Regions from separate parts of the Homo sapiens genome. Here region 1 is linked to region 2. Evidence: promoter capture Hi-C in 16 types of primary human blood cells and fetal thymus (Javierre and others, 2016). All regions are on one chromosome and are shown on one strand. Each heading gives the region's core, a stretch centred on a gene start or on the middle of the fragment in contact. The rest is flanking DNA. Distances are from core to core; before and after follow the strand shown.

Region 1 (5,608 bases), core at 1,091-3,590, 170 kb before region 2:
AATACTGCTTATTATCTCCACTTATAAGTAGGAGCTAAAAATTGAGTAAATATGGACACAAAGATAGGGACAACAGAGATACCTGTGTCTACTTAAGGGTGGAGGGTGGGAGGGGGGTGAGGATTGAAAAACTGCCTGTCAGGTACTATGCTGATTACCTGGGTGACAAAATAATCTGTACACCAAACCCTGCAACATGCAGTTTACCTATATAACAAACCTGCAGCCGGGCGTGGTGGCTCACGCCTGTAATCCCAAAACTTTGGGAGGCCGAGGTGAGTGGATCACCTGAGGTCAGGAGTTCGAGACCAGCCTGACCAACATAGAGAAAGCCTGTCTCTACTGAAAATACAAAATTAGCCGGGTGTGGTGGCGCATGCCTGTAATCCCAGCTGCTTGGGAGGCTGAGGCAGGAGAATGGCTTGAACCCAGGAGGCGGAGGTTGCAGTGAGCTGAGATCGCACCATTGTGCTCCAGCCTGGGCAACAAGATCTAAACTCCATCTGAAAAAAAAAAAAAGTCCTGCACATGTACCCTTGAACTTAAAATAAAAGTGAAAAAAAATAAAGAAATAAAGTCAGTGATGAAGACCTTGGGAAACAGTGAGCATCTTAAAGTCTGCAAAGGCTGGGGAGAAGAAATACGCCTGGTAAGAATGTCATCTGTTCAGTAAGAAGGCAGATGCCAGAGCTTAGAAGAAATTTAAGGTGATTTTTTTGGGACGAAGCACTGGGAGAAAAGATGGCTAGTAAGAGTAGGAACCTCACAGGAATTCCTTTCGGTTCATTCCATTTGCAAATGATCCCAATGAGGAAAAATTGCCAGAGGCCTAGAGTGGAAGGAGCTAATGCAAAAATTATTCTGGCAATGTGAATTCTAAACACTATTGGGATGCAAGCGTTGGCTGGACAATCATTAGAACATTGTGCCAAGGATTCGCAGTGTCTGGTAATTGGTTATTATTATTGGACTTCAGAGGTCACTTCAGTTCTTGAGATACTTCAAAAGTTCCCAAATGTTTTTGTTGGATTCAAAATTGACCATTCGCTGATTTTTGAAGTCCATAAGCAACAAAATATGTAAAATATGTAAAATTTAAAAAGAAACACAAAGTGCCATACATACTTATTAGGCATCCTTTGGAGGAAACAGGAAGGCTGTCTTCCAGGGTAGTAAATACTACCTTGAAAAACGTACCAGTATCTGGCCTTCAGCCTTGCACACTCCAGAAACTGAAATTATTTACATTCTAAGAGTGAAACCACCTCTGGGAGCAGGCTCACTTTCACCAAGCCCATAACATTAGTACCAGTTGAAGAATCTACATGAGAAATAACTTAAAGAGAAGATGACATTTTCATGGGTCTTTTTGACCAGGATATTTTCTTCCTATAGATATACCTGCATGAAAAGTGAAATTATAACCAAAGGTTATTTTCTTTTTTATAATTAAACTTTTTGAGATAATTGTAGATTCACATGCAGTTGCAAGAAATAATACAAAGAAACCTCTGTACTCTTTACCAAGTTTCCCCCCAATGATAACTTCTTGCAAAACTACAGTACGGTATCACAAGTCCAATGGTGACATTGATACCTTCAAGACACAGAGTAGCTCCATCAGCACAAGGATCCCTTGTATTGCCCTAAAAGCTTATTTTCTCAGCAAATATTTAGAACATTCTAATATTCTAGAAGTTCTAATAATACGGAATGGCATCTAATGCATTTGTTCTAAAACAGATTTTGCCAGGCACTCTGGAAAATTCAAGTGCCTTGGGTGGCTCTCCCTCCCCCATGCAATGTGTCGTAACCAGCACTTCTGAATTTGTCTCAGACTCTCTCTTTTCTCTAAGCTGCCATGGCTCACCAAACCTCCACCCCCATTTATAAGTCCCAGGTTCTTTTTAAAACCATCTTCAATCAACTTACAGTAATTTCTGCAGGTCTTGAAGCAGCCCCTCCCATGTTCCCCAACTTCTGATACAACCTCATTTATGCCTTTGCCTCATAAAGACCTACAAAACATTTTTAATTTTGTTTACTTTTGCCATCATATTTATGGATCATTTATGAAGTTTCAGGCCATAGCATACAAATTATATTTTAGGCAACTCCGGATTTTGTCCACTTTCTCTTTCTTCCAAATAAAAATATAAGCTGCAGCCATGCAGGTCTGTCTTCAGAAACTGGCATGGGCTCTTTGTTATCATTAGACAGTAACATGACATCATACACCTGTTTGTGTGATTCCCCCATCACACTCCTTCCCCTGGGATCCCTCAGTGAGTTCTGATGGTTTATGCACATCCTACTGCAATTTTTCCTATGACTGCCATTAAACATAAAAGACAATTCCACACTTCAGTCCTCTATTAAAATATAATATTATTATGGACAAGACCAAGTAATGCTTTCACGAAATGGTTTTTCATTTTCTTTAGCTCTGTCCAGTGTACAATGTATGTAACAAAACTTCCCTATTTTTCCACTGGAGAACCTCCATTCAGAATTCCCCCTAGATGGCAGATGTTGGCATGATTTTACTCCAGTATGTGTTTTAAAAAGAAAAGGAATGACACTCCCTAATTCCAATCCCAGCTATAACATTGATAGTTTAAGAAGTGTGAGAGAGCCCCCAGAACTGCCAATATTGGAAGTCCTATCAACATCAGATTGACTCACTGGAGAATTGTGAGGTTTGTTATGTTCAGAGTTTGCTCATGTGTAAAATGTGGAAAAATGGAAAAAGAATCAGAGGAACATGTATAATGATTCCCACTGAGGTTAACAAGTGTAGATTTGTTTCTAAGATATTAAGAACTTCATGAAATTATAGAAATTTTGAAGACTGATAATACTGATATTATATGAAATTATAGAAATTTTGAAGACTGATAACACTGTATTATGTAAGTTGTTCTGAGAGATTCCCACGGTATTTGTATGATGTTTCAATACCTTCTTTCAGCTTAGATAAGAATATTGGAATCTTCTGAAAATCGATATCAGAATCTACCCAACCTAAAAGCTTTCTACTGTACCTGTCTAATTAATATAAAAGCTTGAGAGTACTTGATATAAGTATAAATAAATGATATAAAGGCTTGAGAGGATGTTGATAGAACTTCTAGGGATTGGATTTAGGGAGTGTCCTTCCTTTTCTTTTTAAAACACATACTGGAGTAAAATCATGCCAACATCTGAAGTCCCCTCAGAATGGAGTACAGATATTATGAATCCAGATTCACCAAGAAGTTAGTTTTTTTTTTTTTAATTTAAAAAGCTGCTCATGCTGGGAATGTAAACTGGTACAACCACTGTGGAAAATAGTGTGGAGATTCCTTAAAGAACTAAAAGTAGAACTACCATTTGATCCAGCAATCCCAAAACTGGATATCTACCCAGAGGAAAAGAAGTCATTATACGAAAAAGATACTTGCACGTGCATGTTTATAACAGCACAATTTGCAATTGCAAAAAATATGAAACCAGCCCAAATGCCCATCAATCAATGAGTGGAAAAAGAAATGGTTGTATATATGATGGAATACTACTCAGCCATAGAAAGGAATGAATTAATGACACAGCAATCTGGATGGAATTGGAGACTATTATTCTAAGAGAAGTAATTCAGGAATGGAAAACCGAACCTGAAATCTTGTAAGTGGGAGCTAGCTATGAGGATGCAAAGGCATAAGAATGATACAATGGACTTTGGGGACTCAGGGGAAAAGATGGAAGGGGTGATGGATAAAAGACTACAAATTGGGTTCAGCATACACTACTCGGGTGATGGGTGCACCAGAATCTCACAAATCACCACTAAAGAACATACTCATGTAACCAAATACCACCTGTTCCCCAAAAACTTATGGAAGTAAATTTTTTTTTAAAAAAAAAGCTGCTCAGCTCTGTCTGATGCATGATCTCGTGGTAACAGTGGAAGTGGTCAGATGTTTGTCCGATCTCCAAAACCCATGTTCTTCTACCTTTTAAAGATAAAATGCTTCTTAAAACTGTTTCATCGGGGCATGGTGGCTCACGCCTGTAATCCCAGCACTTTGGGAGGCTGAGGCAGGTGGACTGCCTGAGGTCAGGAGTTCGAGACCAGCCTGGCCAACATGATGAAATCCCATCTCTACTAAAAATAGAAAAAAATTAGCTGCGCGTAGTGGCGTGTGCCTGTAATCCCAACTACCTGGGAGGCTGAGACATGGGAATTCCTTGAACCAGGAAGATGGAGGTTGTAGTGAGCTGAGATCGCACCACTGCACTCCAGCCTGGGCAACAGTGAGACTCCGTCAAAAAAAAAAAAAAAACACCACTAACACACACACAAAAACCTGTTTCTTCCTTTGTTAAATTAAATTTCTAATTAAAATTTTTATTTTTAAAGAATAGAGATTGGCATGCCATTGTAAGATGTGATACAAGAGATCCATGTACTCTTTGCCCAGTTTCCCCAAAAAATAACATCCTCCAAAACTATAGAAAAACATCACCAACAGCATATGATATTGATATTGACATAGCCAATGTACAACACATTTCTGTCACTGCAATGATCTCTTTTGATTGTTCTTTTATAGCCACTCTCACCTGCCTCCCACACCCACTCCTTTCTTTATACCTGGCAACCACCAATCTGTTCTTCATTTGTATAATTCTGTCATTTCAAGGATGTTGTATAAAAAGAATCATACAGTGCTTAACATTTTGAGACTGGTTTTTTCAACACAGCATAATTCCGTGAAAATTTAAACAGATTGTTGAACAGTTTTTCCTTTTTGTCACTAAGAATTACCCTCTGGTATGTATGTACCACAGTTTGTTTGATCATGTGTTGAAGGACATCTGGGTCGCTTCCAGTTCAAAGCAGCCATAAACATTCATGTACAAACATTTGTGTGAACAAGTACAATTACTGAGTTGTATGGTAGTTACATGTTTAATTTTTTTTTTTTTTTTTTTTTTTTACAGAGTCTTGCTCTGTCACCGAGGCTGGAGTGCAGTGGCACTGTCTCGGCTCACTGCAACCTCCGCCTCCTGGGTTCTAACGATTCTCCTGCCTCAGCCTCCCGAGTTGCTGGGATTACAGACATGCGCCACCACGCCCGCTAACTTTTTGTATTTTTAGTAGAGACAGGGATTTACCATGTTGGCCAAGCTGGTCTCAAACTCCTGACCTCAGGCAATCCATCCGCCTCAGCCTCCCAAAGTGCTGGGATTACAGGCATGAGCCACTGTGCCCGGCCAGCATGTTTAATTTTTAAGCAACAGCATCAACTGTTTGCAGAGTGTCTGTACCATTTTACATGTATGACTGATTCTGTTTCTTTGAACACTCACCAGCATTTATTTTAGCCATTTTGATAGGTGTGCTAACTTTTCGTGGTTTTAGTTTGCATTTCCCTAATGGCTAATGATGTTGAACATCTTTTCACATGCTTATTTGTCATCTGTATATCTTTTTCCATGAAATATTTCTTCATGTCTTTTGCCCATGCTGTACTTTTAGTGTTTGCTTTCTAATTGTTCAGTTTTTAAAGTTCTTTATACATTCTAGGTACTACTCCTTTGTCAAATATGTGATTTGCAAATATAT
Region 2 (5,737 bases), core at 2,074-4,573:
GGGACAGCAGCTCCTCCTTCAGGGACTCCATCTGGGCCTCCAGGTCAGACCTGCACAGGGTCAGCTCATCCAGAATCCTGCGCAGGCTGTTGATGTCGGACTCCACCAGCTGCCGCAGGGACTGCTCCGTCTGGTACCTGCACACACAGCCAGAGGTCAAAAGAGGTCCAAAAAAAAAAAGTCTTTGTTTCCCGGCCTTTACTTGGCTGACTTAGTCAATTTTATTATATTTTGAAATATTTTGAATTTAAAAAATTAAGGGAGAAAATACTCCTGTACTGAGTGAGAAGGCCTATTTTGTCACTGAGACACACAGAAAAGGTATTGGTGGAATGCCTGTGGATAGTTTAGTCTAACACAAACTAAGTTTGTTCTAAGACTCTCGTTTACAAGTTACTATCAACTAAGCCCTGCTGCTTTTGCCATCTCAAGTGAATCAGTGCCCTTCATAAGCCTGCTCCAGGTTGTCCTGTCATCCTTTCCAGCCTTGCCAAGAAGCAATCTAGTGTTGTGGAAGAAACACTGAATTCAGAGTTAGAGCCAGTATTCTCATTAAATGACTGTAGATAGATACCTTTATCTCTCTGAGGCTTGATTTCCTTAACTGTAAAATGAAGACAAAACTAACACCTTATAGGGTTGGACTGAAGATGATATATGTAAAATTATGTTGTAAAATGTAAGATCCCAGGAAAATGCAAAGGATTCTCATGATTGTAATAATGGTCATACCTAAAAGTATTGATTGATTCTCTGAAAGGCAATGGATTTTGCCTCCTGTTTTTGTGGTTTAATAACTTCTTTTTGGGGGGTTGACAGTGACTAACGTATACAAAGAGACCAATGTGAAAATCACTTTCAAACTTACTCCAGACGTTGGGTTGAAAAGGAGTAAGAATGGATGGTGTCTTACAATCAAACTTAAAGCACAGGGCTGCGCACAGTGGCTCACGCCTGTAATCCCAGCAGTTTGGGAGGCTGAGGCGGGTGGATCACTTGAGGTCAGGAGTTCAAGACCAGCCTGACCAACATGGTAAAACCCGGTCTCCACTAAAAATATAAAAATTAGCTGGGCCTGCTGGCGCATGCCTGTAATCCCAGCTACGAGGAAGGCTGAGGCAGGAAAATCACTTGAATCCGGGAGGCGGAGGTTGCAGTGAGCCAAGATTGCATCACTGCACTCCAGCCTGGATGAGAGAGGGAGACTCCATCTCAAAATAAAAAAATTAAAAAAAAAAACTTAAAACACAGAATCTGAGCACCTATTGAAGAGGCTTTGACATTTAACCTAATCCTAACCCAATGCAAGAATCCTCCCAATAGAAATTTCTGCTTCCACATTCCAGGATAGGGAGCTCATCACTTTGTAATTCAGCCTGTCCGTTACTAGACTGCTCTGATGGTTAGGAAAATCTTACTTGGTTCTGAAGTCATCTGCAGCCAGCTTGGCATTGTCGATCTGCACCACCAGCCTGGCATTCTCAGACTTGCTGCACAGGATCTGGGGATAGGATTAATCATGAAATGGGTTATACTAAGAAATGCCTTGTGCCTTAAAGTGAAATGCTATTTTCTTTCAGCCACATTCCTCCCAAATAGCTTTGAGTCCTTTCAGATTTTCAGCTCTGAGATAAAAGGAGGATTTGATCATAAAACTGATCATTTCAAAACCAGGACAACCAATGTGAATTCATCATGAATTCTATTCTTATCTGCTTCTGGCTTCCTGCAATAATTAGGTTACTGGGTATCCAACCCTTCGGTTGGGTGACCAACCATCCCAGTTAACTTAGGACTGAGGGGTTTCTGGGATGCTAAAATGGGAAAAATCCCAGGCAAGCCAGAACAACTTGGTTATCCAACACATTCCACCTGCTAACTTCTCTCCACTCTCCCCTCATATTGCCCTTGTTCATGCCTTTGCAAAAAGCTTCTTGCTGTACCCAGAATGCCCTCACCCACTAGCAAGACCCCTTGTGTAACCCACATACTTAATCAATAACACTTCTTATGACCTTTGTGTGATCATTTTGTTTCCACATCTATCTCCCCTGTTAGACTGTGAGCTCCTGAAGGAAGGAGACTGTCTTACTCAGTACATTATCCCCCACCCCAGCACTGTGCCTAACACTCTCCAACTCTGGGTAAATAAATGAATGATATTCAAATAGCACAACCCCTTTCTGGCATCTAATTTTCCAGATCTACAGAACAGTGGGCAGTCAATTCCCTCCCAGAATCAAGGGCTTGTACAATTGGATATAAACTCCCACTCATCCTTCAAACCCCACTCAGACATTGCCTCTTCTGGGATCCCTCCCAAACCTACACCAGGTATTCAGTCCCAATTCTCTGTGGACTCTTTACTTATATCTACTTCTCTTCCAGAACAGATGGCCCCATATTGTCATCTGTACACATGGCTGCTCTAGAGGATGGTCCATGTGTCTGTAGATATTGCTGGAGTCAACAGCTCTCTTGTGTTGCCATAAATGCTATATTTTGCTACAGCTTTGAAAGGCTTTAAATATTTGAAGATTTACTTAGGAAATTCTTAGCATAGAAAATAATTCAGGTGCATACTTTTTGAAAATGCGGTAATGCTCTGAAAACAAAACCAGGGTATCATAATCAAACCAAAAAATCAGATATTCTGGTTTGGAGTAAGACGCCATATAAGATTGCTATGACTGATTTTGGTCTAATGCTTCACTCTAACACCAGCCTGCATCCTTCCTTTGTGGCTCTACAACAGATTTTCTAAGACTACTTGATGTCATACCTAAGCCAGTGAATCTATGTCTTTATCATTCTCAGCATTACTGTGAACAGACTTAGATCCATTCACAGTTTAGTATGTCAAATATAGATAAGTAGTTCATTAAGCTGGCAGTGTGGTGCCCACCTCCTCACCTTCTGCTGGAGCTCCTCAATGGTCTTGAAGTAGGACTGGTAGCTGGGGCACAGCAAGGGCTCCTGCTGCTGAGACCGCTCCCGGATGAGGTTCTCCAGCTCCGCGTTGTCCCGCTCCAGCTGACGCACCTTCTCCAGGTAGCTGGCCAGGCGGTCGTTCAGGAACTGCATAGTCTCCTTCTCGCTGCCATTGAAGGAGCCCTCGCAGAACCAGTTGCAGTTGCTCACATTGGCAGGGATGTTGCAGGCCCCGGGCAGGGTGTAGCCGTGGCAGCTGGGGGGCACACAGGGCCGGGAGGAGCAGCTGGTGCGGCAGCTCAGGCTGGGCAGGCAGAAGTTGTAGGGCATGGTGCAGGGAGGCAGTGGAGCTCTGGAAGTCAGTTTCAAAACCTGATTCCTTTTCCCTGGGATAAGCCTTGGTCCTTTCCAGGGCTTTATATTCTGTTAGCAGTGGGTGTGGCAACCATGTCAAGTATTCCTCCTTTTTACCTCCTTTGCTGATTTTTCCATTTGTTATTTAGCCACTTCACCTGAGTCCTATACCTCATTAAATGTTTTACTCTGGCTTCTTGCTAAGTCAGGACTCCTCACAAAACATGCTGATTGGTTAAGTAAGAGCTTCATGGTTTGGCTTCAAAGTGACCAACCTTGCCTGTAGCAGTGCTTATCCATGGGACATTGAGCTAGAGTGACAGCTGGGCCCTGTCCCCAGAGTAGGGGGCACATATGTGCCTCTTTCTCCTAAATGAGGAAAGGCTTGTGTCTCATCCAGTTCATATTCAATTAAGACTCTGTGAGAAAAGCCATGTAAGGAAACCCGTCTAGAAACTAGACTATGTGATAGGGAATCCTGGAAGCTGAAATGAGAAAGGACTTACAAGGCCATTGGTTCAAGGCCCATTTGCAGTTCCATCCAGGCAGATGGAGGCAACTCTACCCTCTTCCTATGGGGCTGCAGGAAGCCACCCACCTCCGTTTCTACTAGTATTCAGTGTTCACAGAACATTAAGAAACCTAAATTTTGGGAGCACCTACTCTGCATGAAGCACTGTGCTCCATGCCTGTGCACAGCGTGACTCTGTCATTGGTGATGGGTCCTGCTTGCTGAGCCTCCACTGTGCACCAGGCACAGTGCCAGGCACCTCATATGCACCAGCTCCTTCAGTCCTCTCAAAATGCTGCAAGGGTTTGTAGATAAGGACCCTAAGCCTCTGAGAGGTCTCCCAAGGTCACAGAGCTCCTACATGATGGAGCCAGGGTTCAAATACAGATCTCTCTAATTCCAATGTCCACACTCTGTCATATTACATGTCTCTCTCTTCCAATCTTTTCAGTACTGAGATGCAATAATGCAAAAAATACAGATTGAGCTCCATTGAGCTCAATCAGTGCTGACAATATCCTAAATTAGAATGGGCCAAAAAATAACAAGCCTGTTTTTTACTTATTAAAGAACCAAAAGTCACTTCTATGCTGAAGGAAGGAAGTTTACTAAGTGAAAATGCCTCATACCCACTAGAAGCTTGAAAAAAAAAAAAAAAGGAAACCCTTGGTTGATCTGAGGGAGAAATACCCAAGCCTAGCTCTCCAAAGGATATGACCCTGAAAATCCACCACTATGTCATGTGCATGAAGTGGCATTTTATGACCATTGGCACATTTTGGCAAGCAGATGCTCTACTCTCATGCATTCCAGATGGAACTATGAAATATGAGGATTTTATGTTTAATCTATCAGTGCTCAAATTCTGAAAGATACTCCTCCAAGTTGTTCCTTTTGGAAGCTACATATTAAGTCTTGCCATACAAGAATTCTTTTCCTACAGGTGACCTGCCATTCCTCAGATCACCCTTCCTTCAAACTTGCCTTCACAGCTTGGGACACATTCTTTTGGTTATCCTCATTGAAGGCCAATCTTCATCTTCTATGGGTGTGTTTATTTTTGGAACCAGCCAGAAGTCATTTGAAACCACACCTAGTGCATAGGGTGAATAACCAAGCTGCATAGCATCTTTAATGGGTCAGAAACAGGTTGTGACTACAAAATAATAATGTGTGTTTTCTTGGGTGACTCTGGAAGTCATTTCCAAGGAGAAGCTTCAAATATGCTTTTATAAAGGACAGCAGCTTTGGGGCAAACATGTGGTCTTCCAGGGTGAATGCATTGAAGGTACTGATATCCTCCCCTACAATCACAATCCACAACTTTCTGCCCCTCCTGCCTGAATCTCTAATTTTTTTTTTTTTTTTTTTTTTTTGGAGACAGAGTCTCACTCTATTGCTCTATTGCCCAGGCTACAGTGCAGTGGTGCAATCTCAGCTCACTGCAACCTCCGCCTCCCAGGTTCAAGCTATTCTCCTGTCTCACCCTCCCTAGTAGCTGGGATTAGAGGCGTGCACCACCTGTAATGTGCCTGGCTAATTTTTGTATTTTTAGTAGAGACAGGGTTTCACTATGTTGGGCAGGCTGGTCTCAATCTCCTGACCTCAGGTGATCCACCCGCCTCAGCCTCCCAAAGTGCTGGGATTACAGGAGTGAGCCACTGCACCCGGCCTGAATCTCTACCTTTAAAATGATTCCACTATCAGTGAGATGTGGCATGGGCATATTGGTTTAAAATCAGTACCAAACCATTAAAGTCCTATTGGATGAGATCAAATAACATAAAGCAAATAGCTGAATTCATTAGCTTTTCTCTAATTACCTTGTGTTCTTCTCTCCTTCTTCTACGTCCCAAGCTTCAAAAGGAAAAATCTGACAATGGCACTTTTTAAAGAAAAGGGAAGGAATAGTGTGTCACAGACTGGTAAATATGTCCACAG

Evidence for each region. Contacts are between HindIII fragments. The CHiCAGO score rates a contact against its expected background, and 5 or more counts as called.
Region 1: a fragment that was not itself captured here is called in contact with the fragment with the promoter of KRT33B in region 2 in 1 of 17 cell types (total CD8 T cells); the score reaches 5.4 in total CD8 T cells.

What each region holds. Positions count from the first base shown.
Region 1 is chr17:41,195,019-41,200,626 of GRCh38, forward strand. No RefSeq gene overlaps it. Among named protein-coding and RNA genes, the nearest start is that of KRTAP9-1, 7.9 kb to the left of the region's middle. The HindIII fragment of the contact is 1,378 bases long and covers 1,652-3,029 here.
Region 2 is chr17:41,366,490-41,372,226 of GRCh38, forward strand. It overlaps KRT33B (keratin 33B), which reads right to left and starts at 3,324. Exons shown (of 7, transcript NM_002279.5): 1 at 2,914-3,324; 2 at 1,419-1,501; 3 at 1-137. The coding sequence starts at 3,261. The HindIII fragment of the contact is 2,505 bases long and covers 1,929-4,433 here.